Linked DNA regions of Homo sapiens: region 1 is linked to region 2. The links are contacts of gene promoters, found by promoter capture Hi-C in blood cells and fetal thymus (Javierre and others, 2016). All regions are on one chromosome and are shown on one strand. The core of a region is centred on a gene start or on the middle of the fragment in contact, and the rest is flanking DNA. Distances in the headings are between cores, read along the strand shown. Region 1 overlaps PLEKHA1 (pleckstrin homology domain containing A1). Region 2 holds the start of FAM53B (family with sequence similarity 53 member B).

The links. The method cuts DNA at HindIII sites, captures the fragments that hold promoters and counts their contacts. A CHiCAGO score of 5 or more calls a contact.
Region 1: a contact is called between a fragment that was not itself captured here and the fragment with the promoter of FAM53B in region 2, in 2 of 17 cell types (non-activated CD4 T cells and activated CD4 T cells). The highest score is 7.6, in non-activated CD4 T cells.

Annotation. Positions count from the first base shown.
Region 1 is chr10:122,376,395-122,381,317 of GRCh38, reverse strand. All of the region lies in intron 1 of PLEKHA1 (pleckstrin homology domain containing A1), which reads right to left. Among named protein-coding and RNA genes, the nearest start is that of PLEKHA1, 4.1 kb to the right of the region's middle. The HindIII fragment of the contact is 407 bases long and covers 3,031-3,437 here.
Region 2 is chr10:124,740,570-124,746,058 of GRCh38, reverse strand. FAM53B (family with sequence similarity 53 member B) reads left to right here and starts at 1,681. Exons shown (of 5, transcript NM_014661.4): 1 at 1,681-2,046. RefSeq lists silencers at 1,443-1,582, 1,713-1,762, 1,783-1,892, 1,943-2,102, 2,423-2,632 and 1 more and an enhancer at 4,680-4,799. The HindIII fragment of the contact is 7,750 bases long and covers 1-5,178 here.

The DNA of each region.
Region 1 (4,923 bases), core at 1,985-4,484, 2.4 Mb after region 2:
GTCCAATCCATCAGCAAATCCTGTTATCTCCATCTTCAAATTATAACCAGAATCCTACTTCTCACCACTTGCTACCTCTCTGGTCCAAGTGACCATGACCTCCCACCTGGATTATTGCCAAGGGCCTCTCCTGGATCTGGCCCTTACCCCACTTCAATCTATTCTCAACATGGCAGTCAAAGTGATCCCATTAAAACATTTATTCAAGTGTTCACTCAATAAACACGTACACATATTACTACTCACAAAGCACTTTTCTAAATACCTAAATATTAGTTTATTTAATCCTTATAACAATTTTACAGATGAGAAAACTAATAAGGCACTTGCTCAAGGTCACATGCTTGGGAGTGGCAGTGCCAGGAGTCAAACTGGAGGAGTCTGGCTCTAGAGTCACACTCCTCAATACTATGTAATACCTCACTCTGCTCAAAACTCTTCAGTGCAATAGATGTCAACCTTGGCCACTTATCAGAATTACCTGGGAATTTTAAAAATTCCTGATGCCTACGTTAAAACACCACCTCCCCCACCACCGCCGACCAATTAAATCAGAAATTCTGGGATGGGATCCAGGCATCAGTACTTTTTTAAAGCTTCCCCAATCATTCTAATGTTCGGCCAAGGTTGACAACCTGTTTCAATGGGATCCCATCTCACTCAAAGTAAAAACCTAAAAACCAAAGCCCTCATAAAGACCACTAAGCCTCGTCTGCCCTGTTACCCCATCCCAATACCCACCTTACTCATTCATTTGGCCGCTGGACTCACCAGACAAGATTCCCACTCGGGGACTTGTAACTCAAAGTCACGTTCTCAGTGAACACTGCCTTTTAGATCTTATCTAAAATTGCAAATCCTCCAAACCGTTTTGCTACTTCCACCTTGGTTCCCCATGTTATTCTTCTCCTTAGCATTTATTGATTATCTAATGAATGATACAGTTTACTTATTTACCTGATTCTTGTCTGTTTCCCCACACTGTAATGTAGGCTCCATGACAGCAGGGATTTGTTATTTACTGTTGTTTCTCCAATGCCTAACACAGTGGCTGTCACATGCAAGACCCTCAGTAACTATTTGTTGAACGACGGATGAAGTAACCCATAATTACTGCATCAAAGATTAACGTTAAGTTTCCAGATAGAAAGTTGTTTCTTCCTCATCAGACAAGAATCATTTACCAGATTTAACTGATTTATTTAAATAATGGAAGGAAAAAGTTTCAAATACTGTATTTCCACTTAAATTTATATTTTTAGTGAAACTTACATGAGGCAAAACCAGACACAATTATATTATTAACATGCCTCCCAACCCAAATTTCTCCTTCAGCTTTACTCATACTCTAAGGTATAGTTAGATCTTACAAATCAGTCATAAATTAACATAATTACAGTTAACACCTCATCAGTCAGGAACCAGGAAGCCAAAAAATAAGGCAAAACACAGAAACAGCCTGAGTGATATAAGAAAAAGCAAAGAAAAATTAAATTCTGTACAGTGAGACCTCAACAGGCCCACAAGACTTCACTATTATTTGTTAAAACATGTCGAGTGGGACTAGTCCTGTTGCCCCACAATCACTGACAAACACAAAGCTGAGGATATATAGACATAGAGGATCAAATATCTGTAGAGTCAGGCATGGCTCTGGCACCCTAATCAGCACCATCCTTCCACTCTGCAAGAGCAGTTGACAGAAGAGAGGGAAAGAACTGTAAGTCTTCAGGGAGAACGCAGGGAAAAGAAGGAGGTCTTCACCAAAACAGTGGCAGGGGCCTCTAACAGAAATCACTCATGAAGATCAGAGGAGCCTAGAACAGACTTGCATCCCATTCTCCAGTTCCACATCTGCTTATGCAGCAGACTGAGTGACTGACCCCATGTGTCTACTTGAAAAGGGGGACAAAGAGAATTGATGAGAAATGGCAGGGCACAGAAAGAAGGCAGACTTAAGTAGTCTGTATGCCACTATTCGACATCACAAGGAAGTGAGTTTCCAGTGGGTTGAATAGAAACCACAGCGTACCTGGATTGAAGTTGTTTTGCCATTATCAAAATATCTCGCTGCAGAGAGAAAAGATCTCCACCCCGACTCACACACATTCACGTAACCAGTGGGTAAACTGACAGGATGGGAGCAAGCAGATGGGTGTGTAGGTTGGAAAAGGTTTAGCTACAGAAAATTTCATACCCAGAAACTGTGCAGCAGGAGTCTCCCTGCAAGATCTCACCAAAAATGCCAGTTTGGTTGCCTATTAGTAGACTGCAATGGCCTGCCACTGTTAATCAAGAGAGGACTCTAATAGCACCAGATAACAAACACTTGTCTTTTTCTACTTCTCTTCTTGACACATTTGTATCCAAATAGATCCCTTAAGAGGGAAAGGAAAGAAGTATCCCAGGAGCTTACCACAAGCCGTCCATACCCCAAGTGCTTCAGTAAGTAAGTGGCCTGACCACAGGGTAAGGAAGGGAAAAAAAACCTTTAAATTGAATATATATGAGATTGAATGTTCAAACTGGAATAGACTGCAATTTTTTGTTTTTGTTTTTCTGTTTTTTTTTTTTTTTTGGAGACAGGGTCTCACTCTCCTGTCACCCAGGCTGGAGTGCCACAGCACAGTCTCTGTTCACTGGAACCTCTGCCTCCCAGGCTCAAGGGATCCTCCTACAACAGCCTCCCAACTAGCTGGGACTACAGGCACATGCCACCACGCCCGGCTGATTTTTCTATTTTCTGTAGAGACAAGGTTTCGTCATGTTGCCCAGGCTGGTCTCAAACTCCTGGGCTCAAGCTATCCTCCCACCTCGGCTTTCTGAAGTGCTGGGATTACAGGCATGAGCCACTGAGCCCAGCCTAGAGCTTTTTGATAACTGTAAATGACAGAAAAGCTATCATTTACCCATGATGTTATGGGGGGTGGGGGACAGGGGGGTGGGAAAGAGCCTACAAAATACAGTTAAAGGCAGTGAATAGTGAAAATTAAAACTCATTAAAACTCTTGTGTTTGTTCTCAGTAAGCTTGGACTGCTGAATAACCTGATGACATATGCAATAGCATTCTCATCCTTAATAATGGGAGGGAACACCTGACATGGAAATTCTCAGGAGGGATTTACTGTACCGGGTAAGATGCTACATTAGAAGCCCTCTGACATCACTTCCAATTCTAGTGCCTGTGATCGTCTTTTCCTTCAAGAGGTTAAATTCAATCCAGAATCTAGAGTTCAATGGTTAAACCATAAAAGGCTAGGCTGCCTAAAGGGCTAAAAACCACAACTTTCTGGAGAATAAAGCTATCAGACTGACAAGCCTGGTAAGAGTTCCATGTAGGAAACAATATTTTGCTCTAAAACTTATTTAACTTAAAAAAATCTTAAATGACTAATTTTCTTTTATATCCAACAGAAATTCCAGTTCAAAGAAAGCTTATAAAATCCCAAAAACCCTATCTTCCTGAATATTATCAATTCAACTAATTAAAAGGCTTACTAAAATAAATAGCAAACATATGTTTGCTTAAGCATCTTCTAGGAATCACAAACTCACATATCCCTTATTAGACAGTACCCACAAGAAAAAAAGTTACTTAGGGTCAAATGGTTTAATATTGCTCAGTAAGTGTAAGAGAGTTCTAGTGCTATAACAAATAACAGGATGCTTTATGTTTACATAAAAACATCCCATATTTTTATGTTTCTAAAAATAATTAAGCATTATAAACAATCATCTAAAGCTACCAAGTTTTCTGCCCTTTCTGAAAGCATTCCTTTCAGACACCATGTCAATAAATTCTTAAATGCTGGATGTGTACTCACAAATGGTCAAAAAACCTAAAACCAAATCTTAATATTTAACTCCTATTGAAGTCATTTTATTGTATCATTGCAGATCTAAAACAAGATTTTTTAATCTTGAAATTTAAATTTTAATATTAACAAAAGTAAACTGCTCCAGCATGAGAAAAGTAATTATTTGCATATTACCTCAGCTCACAGTTGGAATCAAATAGGAAATACTTTAAGGCAGTTAGTTATATCAACCCAAAATTTTCTAATAAAAGCAATGTTACTATTGTCACAAATAATTACTACACTATATTCAGAAAACTATCTTCCCCATTCTCAAATAAGTTATTTAAACAATAATGACTTGACATCAAGCAATATGTCAATGTCAAAGTATGACTTAAATTATATTAATAAACTATTTATTAGATTTCATTCTGGGTTACAAATTATCACACAATTAAAATAACTTCGGGATTTGCAGCATGACTAATAATAATAAAGAACTTCCAGGCTTAAGTCAAAAAGCCACTTTGTTTAAATCTCCATTAAATGTTTTTTGTGGGGGGAAGTCCCCATAAAAATGTAAAATGTTTCCACCTTTCCCAAGTATCTTCCTAGGAGTGGTCAATATTGTCATATCCTATATGTTAGCAAACGATACTTGAATGACTTTTAAAGAAAAGAATCCAATGCTATTCTTAACATCCTTAAACACTTCTAAAAAGGTCCTTCCGGCTTATGAACTCATGGCAGTTTCCTCACAATTGTATACTTATCCTGTTTCACTGTCTCTCCTAGTCTATGACAAACTCAATTTTACACACCATCTTTCCTATTTTGTTACACTGCTAAAACTGGGGAGAAAAAAAGATACAAACCTGCTACTTTCCCCCCTCCCAAAGCGACAATGAAAATACTAATTAACAAGATAAAGATTGGAAGCTCTGCGCGCGCCCGCGCGGTGTGTATACACATATATTTATATTATATATATATATATATATATATATATATATATCTTCTTAATGTCACTAAATTCACAGCCATATATCTTGATACAGGTATACGCTACAAGAGAAAACTGTCAGTAGATACAGTGTAAGGTTTACGGCAGTATAAAATAAA
Region 2 (5,489 bases), core at 432-2,931:
AAGTATATTCTAGACAGCCTCAAGAAAGCCTCAGAACCAGAAAAACAGGCTGCTTTAGGTTGGAAAGGAGGTGTTACAGCAGAGGAACTGGCCATGACCACCATCCTTGGAATGTGAAACGCAAATCATCCTGAAAGCAACAAGAATAATGGTTGTAATAATTGTTTCCAGGCCTGGGACCCTGCATCTTGTTTTTTAAGTTGACCTGATGAACTAGTAATTGTAGGAATAAACTGAATGTTTGCCAGCAGGAGTCACTCTAGGCTTCCTAATAAAACGTTAGTAAATTAAACTCTGTCCTTAAAGCTCTGAAAGGCTGAGGTGATTGTGTGATATCAGATGGCTTTAGGGAAACACTGACTCTTTTCGTTAAGCATAGCAGCATTCTTAGATTATTCCTTGGGCCTTCTTTTGTTCACCATCGGTTCTTGGATCTTGTTCCTTTCAAGATTGGTCCTTAATGCATTTTTAAAAAGCAACGTATATGGGTAAGGATATCAATATCTTAGTATGCTGTATTCTGTATGTTAGCTCATTTTGGCTTTCTAGGATGAACTGACTCTATCCCACATCATGTAACTTGAAATGAATAGACTCATATCCTTTCCACTGATTGCTGTCCATTCTAATCATGCAGCAGAACTCAGTGGAGCGAGCTGTAGTGTGAAAGGAGATGTCAGTTCATGCTTTTCTGAAAAGAATGGGTCCGGTGTGATGATATTCTGAAATATTTCAGCAATAGCCATGAAATATAATAGTTTCCCAAGCACACAAAGCTCAAGAAGTTAATTGTTCATTTATGTTTGATACTGGGATTGAAACATTGGATTAAAACCAATTAAATGTTCCTAGAAGCAACAGAAAAAGTTTCCTTATTTATGAATAGAACCATTCAAATGGCGCAGACACAATCCATGTAAAGTAATGAGGTGTTTTGTTTTTTTGGCAAAGGAGAACACAAAACAGGCATAGGGAGTTTTAAAAAAACTTCTCTTTAAAAATCGCTTTTTGGATACAAGGTCAATAAAATAACATACACCAGTAGGAAGGAGTAATGGGAAATCTAGGGCTTCACAAGGAAAACAATCCCCCTCCCCCAGGTGAGCAGCACAATGAAAATACTCTGCTTATTCTATCAGGGTTACATTCCTGAACTTAAGTCAACATCCTAAGTTACAGAACTAAACATGCTCTGCCTCTGCTTAGCAACCACAAATCCTTCCTTCGCCAGTTGCATGTATTTTGGATGTGGCTTCTGAAGTACACAGTCACAGCGCCCCGAGTTAGGAAATTTGCGCTTTATTTTCCCAAAGTGTGACAACACTTTAAGGTCCCCCCTCCCCGACCCCACCCGCCCGCTGTCCTGCACGCCACTGAAGTGATCGTTTCTTTTGAACCTCGGCATCTAACAACCCGGAAGCTGGACGCCTGAAGCCTATGCGGCCCAGCGTTTTCATCCCGGCTCGTGCTGGGGGCGGGGAGAGAAGCCCGTAGGGCCTCTGGCGCGGGGCCCGGGCAGCCGCGGTGGCGCGGCCCAGGCCCGGGGCCACTTCCCGCGTCCCGGGGCCTCGCAGGCGCGAGCGCGGCGAGCGGCGCGCGGCTGAGCCCGCAGGACGCCCTCTAGCCCCGCCGGCGGCGCGCCGCGAGTCCCTCACTCCCCGCCCATCGGCGGCTGCGCGCACTGCACACTCGCCTGCCGCCGCCGCCGCACGCCGCCTGCCTCCTGCACGCCGCCGCCGCGCCTAGCGCCCGGGCCCGCGACACCGCCCGCTAAGCGCCGGGCCGAGTTCACGCAGCCGCGGTCTGGCGGCTCCGCGGCGGCGGCGGGTGCGGGCGGCCTGGCCGGTGCCGGTTAAAGGGACGAGTTGCAAACACTTCAGGAAGTGACAAGTCGATTTCCTCCTCCCCGGGAGTCGCTCGTACAAAGCGCTCGGCGCCGGCAGGCGAGCGTGCGCGCGGCGGACGCGCGGCGGGCACCCCGGACGACTTGGCGAGCGCTGGCGGTGACGGCGCGGGGTCCGCGCCCGGAGCGCCCCGCCGCGCACAGTAAGCGACCCGGGGCCGGGCGGCGGCGGCGGTGGCCGGGGGGCTGGCCCCGAGCGAGGTCCGGGCCGTGTGCGTCCCGGCCGCTGGCTGGAGGGAGCCCGGCTCGCGTGCGCAATGGGCTTGCCTTTTTTTTTTCTTTTTTCCTAATGTTGCTGGTTTCCTTTTTTTCTGCCTTGTTTCGCCTTTGGGTTGGGTCGGGCGGTTTCTCCGGGCGCTCGGTCTCGCCCCTGATGCAGGCGTGAGACTTGTCAGAGCACAGGCATGGGGAAGAACAAGCCTGGCTGCGGCGGAAAAGTCTGCGCTCCCCAGGCCAGGGCGGGCGGGCGCGGGGACTGCTGCGCCCGGGGGTGTCCTCTCCGCGTCTCAACTTGAGCCCTGACTAGCCGCTGCGGAGGAGGCGCGGAGTCTCGGGAGCCGGGCGGCCCCATTCGCCCCGAAGTTCCCGCATCGTTTGCAGACAACTCTTTTGTTCGCGGAAGTTTGCACCCGCCACCCCCGGGGTGCGGGAGCGAGGCGGCGGGCTCCGCTGCTGCTGGACTGTCCGGGGCGGTCAGGATGGGGGTGAGGGGGCATTCTGTCCCGGGCGGGGGAAGCCCGCGGGGAGGCCACCGCTGGGGCTTGCGGAGTGGGGGCGTCCGCGCCGGCGTGGCTTTTGCACATGGCGAGAAGGGCCGTCCGGCACAGGCACACTGGTCGAGTCACATTTTTGCTAGTCTTGGATTTTGCAAGCCCGTGGGAGTCAGGTTCCCCGCTCAGGGTTTCTCTTGGGGCAGAGACGAAAGAAACGAGGACACCCAGAATCCGGGGAGGGTTTGCGGTTTGTGTTGTCCCAAGTGTGTTCTCGCTCCCCCCGCCCCCCCACCTTGTCCCCCAGCCCCCAGCTCTCCACCCCCATTTTCGGACTTGGGGAACAATGCTTGTAGTACGGGCCGGGGCGCCGCAGCAGCGACGAACCGCGCGGACAGGTTTGCCCGGGTCCCTCGCGTTCGGACGCCCCCTGAAGCCGAGCTCCTTCCATCTGACCGCCCGGGCTCATTAACACGTACTGTACTTAGGACGATGGTGAACAAAGAAAAGCTCTTTGCAGCGTTTGATGAATGGGATTCTGCCTCCTATAGGCCACACTCCGAGTCTTCCATACGGTACAATCTCCGGACTCGGTGGTGTTAGGAAAGTGGCCCCCGGAATGGCTTGCATTCCGGGTCTGGGATCCTGGGGTGGGCATTTGTGCCGTCGCCTTCGCCGCCGCGCTCGCCTTGCAGGAGCGGGTGCAGATGGAGCCAGGCTGACGGTTGTTCAACAGGAACAAATGTTTGTTCAATTGTTGGATGGTGGAGAAAAGGGACTGTTTCCTATTGACTGCTGCAGGAGTTGGAATGGCATTGTTTATTGGCCTGGGAAGCCAGGCAAGCGTCTTGTGCTGCTTACAACATATTAGCAGACTTCCAAATGACATGCTAGCATATGTGTTCCCAGCAGTCCCCACCGGCTGGCAGGGAGATTCCTCCTTGCTCCAGATCCTGGACTCGTTTAAAAGATGCCACCTGGTTTGAGGACTTGGGAAGGAATGGAGTCAGCCGACCAGGTGAAACTCACTGTTCCTTATTAGGCCAGGTTTTTGTTTCATTTTAATTTATCTATTTAAGAGTAACTTGTGTCAGTTACAGTTTTGATATTGAATTGCAGGTCTACAGGGTCCCCTCCCCCGCCTCTAGCTGTGGACTACAGAAACAGCTACTTGTCCCAGTTGATAGTCCCATTCAGTGGGAGAAGGTTTGGCTCAGGATTGGTAGCCCTTGACTCTGTGTCTGCACTTGGCTGTCACCCATCATGCGACCTGGGAGTCTGCCGATCCAGCTTCCAGGCGCTTTTTCAGGTTAAAAAGCTAAGGAGAGGCGTGGGGAAGGCCTGTATTTTTTTCTTCCAAACGTTCCTTCAGAGAACGAGGCGATTTAAATTCAAATAATGTTGCCCAACGACTTCCTATTTTCTTCTGAGAAGGTGAGATTCATGTGCAGTCATTTTGATATCAAAGACAAGTTTTTAAATAGAAACTAGCAACCTCACTGCTGCAGAAGTGGACTTGAATGTTCCAGTCTTCTCAGGACAAAGTAGAGAGCATTCCACTGTCTTGGTTCATAATGTTTTAAATCAGTTTCCCTCTTCTCTTTTCAACGTGGGGTATGTTGCACATAGCATTTTGAAAGTACGCAAAGTTCTTTTGGAAAGAGCTTTATGATACCTTATTGTCACCGTGGTGGTTACGCTTAATTGACATTTTATGGGAAGTCCTGGTATTATTTCCTGGGCTCTTTCTGTTTCCATCTTTTAGTCTTTCTCTTTCCCCTTATATATTCTCTCACTGCCCCGCTAGCCTCTCCATCCTCTCTACAGAAGCCTAGTGGGCTTGGGTTCCTTTAAGCGGGTCCAGTGAGCAGGCGCCTGACCCTTGATTGAAGCTCAGGAAGGGCCAGCCTGCTCTCCTCCCCTTTTGGAGGCCAGAGAGGAGAGAGCTGTGTTTAAATATTAGGAGCTGGCAGCAGGGGACGCTGCGGAGCTCTTTTAAAAAGCACACTCTTCTCACCCACCGCTCGATGCCTTGGGCCCTGAAGACTGAGTTCTGGGCCCACCTTCAGATTGTTCAGTTGATGTTTTATTTGGGCAGCGTGACTTTCTGCAGTTAAATTGCGCATTGTATGGAAAACTCTTCTGTTCTTGTCCTTAAATAAAAAGACTGAAATAAGCAAATACTCAGATCGGCACAACCCCCATCATTACCACCACCACGCACACCTCTCTGATGTGTAATAAAAGAAACCTGCAGGCATAATTTGTTATGTAATATGCTGATAATACAAGTTTCGGTTTTCGATGGAAACCAGATGTGGAGGGACTCTCTTTAATTGATCCAGCAAGGGGAAGACTAATAGATGAACTAGTCCTTGCAAACCCCAGTGGTGTTTTGATTTAACTTTAGGGGAGAATCCCGAGCTCAGGGCTTTGGAGAGGTTTTTACCCTCAGCTTCTGCTTTGCTGCAGCTGTCCTTTTTGTCAGACTCTTCCTCTTTTGAAAGAACCGGTTCGTTGCCAACACAAAGCACATGGCCGGAGCTGGCGGGGCTCAGCGAAGCTTAGCTCTGCTGGACTCTCCTCCTCCTTGCCTCGTCCGGCTGCTACCCTCCCCTCCACGCCACAAAACAGGGTCTGGCCAGGGGACTTGGGTGCTGGGAGGAGTGTTGATTGTTCTCCCTCAACTCCTTTCTGAAATGTCAGTCTGATCATCCAGGGAGAGTTTCTGTTTAAACTTGTCCAACGGATACACTTTCCAAAAATCATTGACTCTCTTTCTCTGATTAATTTGTTTGTTTCCTGCCTAAGTTTGAGGGTTTTTTCTGGATGGCTGAGTCACCTTTATTATGGCTCAAGGTTGGGGACGGCACTGT